Regions from separate parts of the Homo sapiens genome. Here regions 1 and 2 are each linked to region 3. The links are contacts of gene promoters, found by promoter capture Hi-C in blood cells and fetal thymus (Javierre and others, 2016). All regions are on one chromosome and are shown on one strand. Each heading gives the region's core, a stretch centred on a gene start or on the middle of the fragment in contact. The rest is flanking DNA. Distances are from core to core; before and after follow the strand shown. Region 1 has its middle 110 kb from the start of LINC01814. Region 2 overlaps LINC00299 (long intergenic non-protein coding RNA 299). Region 3 holds the start of CMPK2 (cytidine/uridine monophosphate kinase 2).

Region 1 (3,361 bases), core at 217-2,716, 1.6 Mb before region 3:
CTCAGCACTCTGTAGCTGTCATCAGTTTGATGCATCTCCCCTTCCCTAGGAGAACCGACAGGGCTGTCTCACCTGTAACACAGGTGAGGGGTTAGGGAGGAGGTAAGGGGTTAGGGAGCTTGCATGTTGGCCATCCCAGGCACTGCCAAGAGCCAGATCCATTCCTTTAATCCATTGACCCTGGAGTTTGGGAAGAGCTTTCATTCTGAAGCATAGGACTCTGAATTTGCAAAATGTCTTACAGCAGAGACCACCATAAAAATAATTGCACTTTGGTTGCTCTTCTGGATAATCTACAGATTTGTAAGTCTAGAAAATCAGACACTGCCATTGAACCAAATTTGAAATTCTGTAAGGCCTTGGGGTGTGTCCAGGTGCCCTGAGGAAGTGACCAAGGCCATCAGGGTGCTGTTACTGACTTAAGCTTGAGTTTCTTGACATCGGCATCTTTTTCCTGTGGGGAGGACTCCATAGCCAGGCTGGTGCCAGCCAGGACCTGGGTGCCCTTTTCCCTGGCTGCTTGTCTGCTTAGGCTCTTTCCAAGGCTTTAGTTCTGCCCATGTCTGTAAAGAAGGACCATCTTAGGAGAGGGAGAGGGAATGCCAGAGGCCTCCTGGTTCATCATCTCATTACAATACCTCTAACACCTTTGACCTTAGAGTCCTTCTCTTCTTCTAGAGCTACAAATAACACCAGGAAGGTGTGTGGCAGTGGTAGGGCCTCCAGACAGACTTGGTTCCACCAGGCTTTGGAGGGAAGTCATGTACCTCTCAGCCTCATACTCCACATCTGCAAAATGGGAACACGAAGGTCCATGTTGCCAGGGTAAGGAACAAGGCATATTTAGCACTTGTTGCCAAGTAGGTATTCCATAAATGGTTACTATTATTCTTCTATAATAAACTTATTACATAAATCTAACTTTATAGGGCTTATGGGAATTGGAAGGGCTCAGCTCTGATGTTCCCTTCCTCCTTACCTCAGCCAGGAAGAATCCCCCTTTTCCTCCCTCCTGCAGGCCTTGTCTTGCCTGACCATAGAATCTAATACCAACCTTGTAATTGTCATCTGAATACAGACTGCGTCTTATCTACTTAATAGATTGAGGCTCACAGAGGTTAAGGGCTCAAGATCGCAGGCCGGTTAGTGGGGAAGCTGGAGTTCATACACTGACCCGTATTCCTTATCTCAACACCATGAGAACAACAGCATTAAGTGCCAAGTTTCAGAAACTCACATGAAAACTCTTGCTTTTGCTTAGAGGTGGGAATGAGAGGTTCTGAGCTGTCCCATATTGGACATAGGGAACTGGACAGGCCTCCTGGTCTCTAGCACACAGCATATTTTACAGGGAACTTACCAACTTTCCACTTTCCCAACCGGAGGAGGGTTTAGAAACAGCCCCCAGTGATATGGGTGTAGAAACTCCTGAAAGAGTATAGCCATGGAGAGGAAGTGCTCAGAGGTGCTGGGCCAGCAGGAAGTGGGAGCTGTTTCTAGCACAGAGGATGTGGCTCAAGACAAGGTATAAGAAATGAAAGTCAAGAAAGAAGTAGAAGTGGGATACTGAGGTGCCTCAAGCACAAGGAAGTGGCTTTATTGGCCAAGGTGGAAGGACAAAACAGCATTGCAGCGAAGATTTTGGGTGGGTGTGGAAGCCATTTTTCCTCTTATAGTGGCTGCATGAGGGAGGTGTTGGAACCTGGGGATTAGACATCTGGTGTATGGTGATTCTCAGTCAACTCTCACGGGGACTGCATAGAAACCATCTTGAGGAGAAATCGAACTTGTGAAGGCAAAGAAACATTGATTTCAGTGAGGTTTAGTTGACTGAGTTGTGCTTGCATTTTAGTCTTACAGCTCTGCAGGATGTGCTGGTGAGCTGGGAGCTACCCTGGGGAGGCAGCTCTGGTTTTCCTTAGTGTTGAGGGGTCTACCAGCCATTGAGCACAAATGGTGTGCTGGGGCTTACAGAGAGCAAATAATTTCATCCTCACAGTAACTCGTAAACTAGACAAATGCTATCACCCACATTTTACAGAAAGGAGGCAGCTCAGAATCACAGTATTTAATTAACTTGTCCAAAAGTAGAGTTCAGCTGGCAAATTGACGTGAACCCAGGTCTCTCTGATCCAGAATTGAGATTCTTTCTGCTAGGTGGCTTATCCATATACAGGTCTTGTTGGGAAATTTTTCTCCCCTGCCTATGAACGAGAAGCATAATCAGAGGCCACTTTGCGGGGCAAGGGTCCCTTTGAAAATCAGATGAAAGCCACTATGAAAGAGTGCATATGCCCCACAACTTTAGGGGGCTGAGGGCACCTCTGAGGTGCATCCAGAAGTCTCTTAATGTCTATGGAGCCCAGCTCAGGAAACCTTGTGATAAGGAAAAAAGGAACCAGAAGATGTCAGAAAAGAAAGAATTTTTAATGTAAGCAGATTTAAAAACTGCATTGTACGTACAGCCTACACACTCTGAATTTGTTGCCTTGAACATAACAAGCTTACATAAACAGGCTTCCATTACCTTATATGATAAATGTTCTTCTGGTTTGTAATGTGCACGTGAAAATGGACAACTCATTTGAACATTCTACAGGTAGATGTTTTTTCCTACCATAAAAGCCAAAACATCAAATAGCTTAAAACAATATACCTGGAAGTCGACATGATAAAATAGCATCACTTCCTTTTCCTTTACTACTCAGTTATTTTTCCCTGAGGGCAGTCCCTTTGCAGGTGGTATAGGGATGACTTCCATGCTATCACCCAGACTCACTTTACACTACTGCTATAGTCATCTTAAAGAAATTTGCATTTCATTGGAATGTATGTGTTTTCACTAAATTGATTATTTATGTTATACTCCCTTCCAGTGATCCTTAAAAATGTTCATGCACTGAGAATCACCAATGAACAGAGATGGAAGGGAGCTTAGAGATCATCCAACCTGACCTCCTTTACTTTTACAGATGGAGAAACTGAGGAGCTGAGAGGTTAAATCCCAGGCACTCAAGAAGTACCTGTGAAATGTGAGGCCAGATGGAATTTTCCTTCTGCTCCAAAGTCCTGGCAGGGTGGGAATCTTCAGTGGGACAGGGAGCCACAGAGGCTTTGCTAGCAATGAGGGGATGGCCACCGTGAAGGAAGGGTGCCCTGGTCCAGGATGGAGGTAGGACCCACCTGTGCCTCTAAGGATAACCGTCACCAACCCAAACCCGATGGGAGCATCTCTAAGATGAAGTAGAGTCCAAGTGGGGAAGACAGGGGGACAGAAAGGTCCAGAGACTCAGAGAACTTTGGGACAGGGAGAGGATGGTGCAGACCCTCCAGCAAGAGACTCAGGGACCCCCAGCTGTTC
Region 2 (3,641 bases), core at 274-2,773, 1.5 Mb before region 3:
TCAGCACCCACCCTGCAGGTCCAAGCAGGTCCAGCAGGCAGCCCTGAGTCTTTTTTTTTTTTTTTTTTTTTGAGACAGGGTCTTGCTCTGTTGCCTGGGCTGGATTGCAGTGGCAGATCATGGCTCACGATAACCTCTACCTCTTGGGCTCAAGTGATGCTCCCTCCTCAGTCTCCTGACTAGCTGGGACTACAGGTATGCACCGCCATGCCTGGCTAATTATTATATTTTTGGTAGAGAAAGGGTTTCACCATGTTGCCCAGGCTGGTCTCGAACTCCTGGGCTCAAGTGATCCACCGACTTCAGCCTCTCAAAGTGCTGGGATTACAGGCTTGAGCTACTGTGCCTGGCCTGCTCTGAGTCTTTGGAGACAGTCTTATCTGCATTCATTCCTTCTGGTCAAGGTCTCTCTTCCTGACTTGCATTTCTGTAGCTTCTTTTCATTCCTGACCGTGTCCCAACTGCATATCATCATGGATTGAACAGTCTCATCTCTGATCTAGGAAGATATTCCTTTTAATTTATTCCCATTTTTGGTATCAGTAAACTCCACTCTTCTTTGCCCTAGGTTCTGTTAGGTGACTGGGTGTGCACAATGAGAACTTTTAAGAACACCAGGTCAGGAGACTGATCCCAATTCTGAACCTTACAGAATCTGGAGGTAGAAGAGATAAGATGTCAGAACTGCTTTACAGCATTCCAGGAAAATGTTCTTCTAACTCCTGCGTGAAAGCTTCAGTGATGCGAAGCTCACTGCTCACGCGGCCATCTGCCCTTCTCATGATGGTCTCTTGTTGTTCGGGGCCACACATTTCTTCTTGTCCTTCAGGCCCTCAAAGTCCACTTCATAGCCAGTGTCCAGTGACGTCACCCCTCTCGGCCTCACTGTCTTCATTGATCACGTGGTGAAAGGAGCACTGGGTTAATTAGCATGTGTGAAACACCCTGAACGCCATCAGACCCCCAGCTCATTCTCGTTAGTGTCAATCAGGTTGCTGCTGTGGTTGTTGCTATTAGGATAATTGTCATGGCCTCTCTTTCACCTTCTGCCTGGCTTCTTTGGCACCACTTGGCTTCATTATACCACTTGCTGGTTCTCAGACACACCATGCACCCCACACAGCACCCCGGTCCTACAGTGGCTCCTCTACAGGATGCCCAGGGCACCCTCCTTTCCAGCATTCCTGCCCTCACCATGTTCCCTCTCTCCTGAAAACCTTGACTCACCCTCTGGAGCTCAGCTACAACCCAAGTTCCCCAGGACACCCCTAACCTCATATGGGAGCCTGATGCCTGGGGCTTAGGGCCAGCCTCTGCTACTAGCAACCCTCTGATATTGAAAAATGTACTCACCTTCCTTGTTCTTATTCTTAAAACAGAGATAATGCATTTATTGCAGGTTGTTGTAAATATTAAATGAAATGAGATATTTAAGTTGTGTGTTGGATAACACATCAGCCAATCCCTCTTTCAAACACATTTTTCTACCTGATCCTCACAGCCGCGTGGGAGGCAGGGATCTTTTCTTTGCAGGTGGAAACACTCAGCTTTGGGAGTGGCAGGTCCAAGACTACCCAGTTCCTGAGGGCTTCATTCAAACTTGAACCTAGGACTTCGGAATTTACAACTTTTGTGTTATCCACTGAAAATTTGCAAAATTATTGCTGATGGATCTAGTAGGGTCTCAAAAAAAAATCCTCAAATTAAATCAATTAGATCAAACAGAACTCTGTGATATTCTGATTTTTAATTCTTATTTATTTATTTGCATTTATGTTGGGTTTCGATTGCAAGATTCTCTGGAGAAAGCAACTATAATTTTATTATGAAGTGATATGGTTTGGCTCTGTGTCCCCACCCAAATCTCATCCGGAATTGTAATCCCACATGTCAAGGGAGGGGCCTGGTGGGAGGTGATTGAATCATGTGGGCAGTTTCCTCTGTGCTGTTCTTGTAGTGAGGGAGTTCTCACAAGATCTGATGGTTTTAAAGTGGCAGTTTCCCCTGCTCACTCCCTCTCTTGCCTGCTGCCATGTAAGACTTGCCTTGCTCCCCCTTCTGCCATGATGGTTAAGTTTCCTGAGGTCTCCCCAGCCAAGTGGAACTGTGAATTAATGAAACCTCTTTTGTTTATAAATTACCCACTCTCAGACATTTCTTTATAGCAGTGTGAAAATGGACTAATGCATGAAGGAATAGATGTATATAGAACAGAAGTTGCTTTCTTGTTGCTGGGCACCAAAATGGATTTTCTAGGATGTTTGGCTTTTGGGGGGCCTGAGAGCCCCCCAAAACAGGCATTTAAAAGCTTAAAAGCAAAGTAGCCTCTTCTGACATAGCTATGATGGTTTCTGTCACCCAGGGTCTGTGCATGGGAATAACAATACATAGCTCACATTGAAAAAGTGCTTGAGGGTTCACAGAATGTTTTTTTCAGCCCTACACTTTAGTTGATGCAAGCCAGCCAGCAGCCCTGTGAAGCTGTGTGAGTGTGAGACTTACTACCTCCAGCCCAGCCTTCCCATGCTGGCTGTCCTGCTAAGCCCAGTGGGTGTGGCCTGTGCCTGGGTCTGCTGCTGTTACTCACCCCTCACTTCTGAAGCCACATCAAGCGTACTTCTGTCTTGAAGACTGCGGATCCGCCTTGAACAGGAGCCAGCTCTCATCGTGTCATTCCTGACAGATTTCTTAATTAATCTGCTCAGATTGTCAATAATGTAATTCACTGTTGATTTAGAAACTAGTTATATGAGGACTGCTAGGGCCATTGTGGGAAAACATCTGAATAATTCAGCTAATAGATGGGAAACTCACCCAGATCGCCAGGGCACAGGGAGAGAGCAGCTAATTCGAACGGGATGAGCTCAAGTAGGGTGATTCCAGCAAATTCCAGGGAGCAGGGAGAGGTTGTCATATTGCTAGGGGCAGCAGCTGCCTGGTTTAATTATTGTCATTTTGGTTTTTGGAAAAAAGCACATGGGCCCACACTTGCAGGCAGAGGCCATTAACACACTCTTGAAAAAGAGTGGAATTTTCAGTGTAAAGTACATGATGTGGCTGATTCTACCTCCGAGCTGTGCTCACATGTTAGTGGGGCTTATTCTAGGCAGATCATATTTATAATTTCAAATAATATGACTATAATTTGAAATTTGTGAGTTTAGTAATAAGTAACATCAGAGAAATATCAAAATGACCTTTCCCCCACTGGGAGATTCATAGTTGTTTGGGTTTTTCCCAGGATTGTGTAGATGTCTTGAGATTATGGTAATCATATCATCCTTTTTATACTTGGGGCCATGGTAGAAAATGCAGTTTATAGATGGGTGAGTCTAATGATGCGAAGAGTCTTACATAAACATAAAAACTCAATTCTATTTAGTTATATACTTAACATTTTGTTTTTATTGGAAATAATAAAATTATATGGAGTTGAGCTATTATACTAAATTTTTTGCTATGGAGGCTAGAGTTTTCACAACCCTTAAGTGCAGATAAGTTAGTGCTTAGATGTAAATGTTAAGAATCATGGTACTTTGGGAGGAAATGTTAATTTGGTTGCATTTATCTGCAGCGTCCCATGCTTTTCTTCTGTTTCTCTATCTTTCCTTCTCCATCTTCCAACATCCTCACATGCACAA
Region 3 (3,618 bases), core at 735-3,234:
TATATAATATTGACTAAGCCCAAATACTGCAGTGTTATTAACTTTACATCTCTTCGTAGGGCGAAGGTAGGTGAAAAATAGAGAGGAAAACTTAAATTAAAAAAGGTAAGATGCTTCATTTAGCAAACTGTGTGTCAGGTTTTCTTTCAGTTGGAGGCTCAGAGAAAAGTTAGGAAGAAGCTGGTCTTCCTACTTACCCTCAAGGTGCTCAGTGGTGGGAAATAGACTGGCACGTGACTGTGGAGTGTCAAGGTCCGAGGATACAAATAGCCTTGGTGGGGGACACAGGAGAGGCTACTAACCCAGATATGTGGGGGGTTATAGGCTATATCATGTCCCCCAAAATTCATGCTCAGGCCTAGCCCCCAGTGCCTCACAGTATGACTGTATTTCAAAATAAGGCTTTCAATAGGTGATTACATTAAAATGAGAACATTATGATGGGCCCTAACCCAATCTGACTGGTGTCCTTCCCAGAAGAGGAAATTTGGAACTTCAAGGAGACGCCAAGGATGCAAGCACAAAGGAAAGGTCCCGTGAGAACACAGAGAGAAGGAGGCGGTCTGCACGCTAGAAAGAGAGGCCTCAGAAAAAGCAAACCCTGCTGGCAACTTGATCTCCAGCTTCTCTGGCCACCTGAACTTTGAGAAAACAAATTTTCTATTGTTTAGGCGGCCCAGTCCGTGGTATTTTGTTATGGCAGCCAGGATAGACTAATACATCCAGAGAGGTGGATGGCATAGGGAAAAGGTCAAGCAGGCTTGAGGATGCAGTACTGTCTTAGAGAAGAAAAGGGAGTAACTAGAAGACTCTTACTTCCATATACTACATACACGTGAAACCACCGGTACATGCTAAATGTCCAAAAGTGAAATTCCTGAGAAAGAATAAAAACTATTCTATTCTCAAAGAGCTAAAAAATTTTAAACTCCTAATTCTTCTTTCTTCTTAGCCTATTAACCCACACTCCAACCACCTATCTATATTTCACGTTTGTTAAGACTTTTTTTTTCAGAATTAAATATAATCCCAAGTTTAAGTCCAATACTATTAAGACATAAAAAAAAAACTGCTTTCAGCTCATCTAATGTTTTCAATCTTCGTCTCAATTCTATTTTTTTGAGAGAGTTTCCCTGGAGAATATTATCTTTTTGTTTGTTTTTGGTTTGCTTGACATCATTTTTAAAAGGCATCAGTTAATGAGTAAACACAGAATAAAATATCCAAATAACTGCGCAAACACTGTTACACTGTTAGGCAGTTACACTGTTAGGCAGCAACAGTGCTGATGCTGGACTGTGGCAGGCAGAGGGTGCTATCCTGACACACTTCACCTTAGTGCAGGAAACTTCAATTTGGTGGAAGAAAGGCGATTTCGAGGTGCCAATCTGGGCGACACTTCCCAGTTGGAGAGTCAGCAAAAGGGAGAGGGCAATTCCAAGAAGAGGGAAAAGCTTGTGCACAGGTGAGTGTGTGCAAAGGTGAGTGTGTGCACAGGTGAGTGAGTGCACAGGTGAGATAAGATACAGGAGAGGGAAGAGCCAGAACTGCGCCCTGTTCCCGCAGGAAAGCAGCTCTGCAGGATTAGAGGGGCGGGGACGCGTGGTCAGAGCTAGGAGTTGAGGTCGGGGAGGGAGCCCATGGTCTGCAGGGCCTGGTCAGTCATCCAAGGGCAGTAGTGCGCCTGCAAGTGGGCGTTGAAGAGCCCGTTACACCGGGAAGGGACTTCTCTGTCCCTCGCGCGTGCACCCCCGCCCCCCTCCATGCACCCGGCATAAGCCGCAGAGGAGGAACTCAAACCAGGGTCGGGGCCGCCAGCCACCCGCAGAACGCACACGGAGCTACCTTGGGGCCGACGGCGCGGGGCCTCATTCGGTGTCAGCCCCGGGAGCCGGCGCCTGGGGACCGCGCAGGCCCGCGGAGCCGCGCACCTGGGGCCCCGGGGCCAAGCGTCTGCTCCCGAGCGCCGGCCGTTTATCGCGCACATCTCGCGGCGAGGAGGAGAGGCCGGAAGGGCGCCCCAGCCCCAGGGCTCCTGCCCCGCCTGGGCCTCCGGCTTTCGTTTCCCCGCAACGCTTCGCTTTCGTTTCCCGCTGGCGCCTGGCTCCCTCCGGGTTTCGTTTCCCGCCGGCGCCTGGCTCCCGCCAGGTTTCGTTTCCGAGGCGGGGCCGAGGGCGGCGTCGCTGAGGCGCCCATGGCCTTCGCCCGCCGGCTCCTGCGCGGGCCACTGTCGGGGCCGCTGCTCGGGCGGCGCGGGGTCTGCGCTGGGGCCATGGCTCCGCCGCGCCGCTTCGTCCTGGAGCTTCCCGACTGCACCCTGGCTCACTTCGCCCTAGGCGCCGACGCCCCCGGCGACGCAGACGCCCCCGACCCCCGCCTGGCGGCGCTGCTGGGGCCCCCGGAGCGCAGCTACTCGCTGTGCGTGCCCGTGACCCCGGACGCCGGCTGCGGGGCCCGGGTCCGGGCGGCGCGGCTGCACCAGCGCCTGCTGCACCAGCTGCGCCGCGGCCCCTTCCAGCGGTGCCAGCTGCTCAGGCTGCTCTGCTACTGCCCGGGCGGCCAGGCCGGCGGCGCACAGCAAGGCTTCCTGCTGCGCGACCCCCTGGATGACCCTGACACCCGGCAAGCGCTGCTCGAGCTGCTGGGCGCCTGTCAGGAGGCACCACGCCCGCACTTGGGCGAGTTCGAGGCCGACCCGCGCGGCCAGCTGTGGCAGCGCCTCTGGGAGGTGCAAGACGGCAGGCGGCTGCAGGTGGGCTGCGCACAGGTCGTGCCCGTCCCGGAGCCCCCGCTGCACCCGGTGGTGCCAGACTTGCCCAGTTCCGTGGTCTTCCCGGACCGGGAAGCCGCCCGGGCCGTTTTGGAGGAGGTAAGAGTTCTGTCCGCTTCCAGCTCCCAGCGTGGCATCTGAACCCTTCAGACCAGAGAACTGGACCAAGAGGCTGGTCTGTAGAGCCGGTTCTTGCCTGGGTGGTTTGTTTATTTCCGTTCACAAATCAGGTAGGGAAGGTGTCCTGTATGCCAGGCAACTCTTTTAAGATTCTTGTTTGCAAGGATCTTCCAACCTGACGTGGAACATAGACCTACACCAAGCCACGCGATGCTTGCTGTAAAAGCATCCCAACAGCAGTACAGAGGGAGTAAAGGGGCTGCCGGGAGTGAGGGAAAATAATGTCAGCTGGGAAGTAATTTTATTTGCTGATGATCACCATTCAAGGATCTTGGGGTGAAAAAGAAAATGCATGAGTTTAGGGGGTTTAAGAAATTTAGACTTAAATAGTGTTTACCTACCGACTGGCCATGAACCTTGTGCAGGTTACTCAACTACTCTAAGTTTTGCCCTTTGACATGTACAATTCCCATCTTGCGATGTTGTCCTGATTAAGGAAACATCTGACTCACAGCAGGTACCCACAGAAAGAGACTGAAAATTCTTTCTGATCGCAGGCTAGGCAGATGTCCTCCTGTGACACAGATGAGCCCTGAGGATGCCCCCATGGATCTTGGGAATATTTTCCAAGCTTACGGGACAGCGTTGTGGAGCAGTTAAGAGCGCAAGGTCAACCACGTGTATTTAAATTTAAACTCTGGCATTTATTAGCTGTGTCACTTTGAGCA

The links. The method cuts DNA at HindIII sites, captures the fragments that hold promoters and counts their contacts. A CHiCAGO score of 5 or more calls a contact.
Region 1: a fragment that was not itself captured here is called in contact with the fragment with the promoter of CMPK2 in region 3 in 1 of 17 cell types (erythroblasts); the score reaches 5.4 in erythroblasts.
Region 2: a fragment that was not itself captured here is called in contact with the fragment with the promoter of CMPK2 in region 3 in 1 of 17 cell types (erythroblasts); the score reaches 6.9 in erythroblasts.

The regions. Positions count from the first base shown.
Region 1 is chr2:8,470,952-8,474,312 of GRCh38, reverse strand. No RefSeq gene overlaps it. Among named protein-coding and RNA genes, the nearest start is that of LINC01814, 110 kb to the left of the region's middle. The HindIII fragment of the contact is 2,079 bases long and covers 427-2,505 here.
Region 2 is chr2:8,314,901-8,318,541 of GRCh38, reverse strand. The region is part of intron 2 of LINC00299 (long intergenic non-protein coding RNA 299); the gene reads left to right. Among named protein-coding and RNA genes, the nearest start is that of LINC00299, 12 kb to the left of the region's middle. The HindIII fragment of the contact is 1,575 bases long and covers 736-2,310 here.
Region 3 is chr2:6,864,273-6,867,890 of GRCh38, reverse strand. CMPK2 (cytidine/uridine monophosphate kinase 2) reads left to right here and starts at 1,984. Exons shown (of 5, transcript NM_207315.4): 1 at 1,984-2,869. The coding sequence starts at 2,195. It also overlaps a transcript of RSAD2 not described here. RefSeq lists silencers at 1,724-1,993, 2,234-2,673 and an enhancer at 1,994-2,213. The HindIII fragment of the contact is 2,067 bases long and covers 1,457-3,523 here.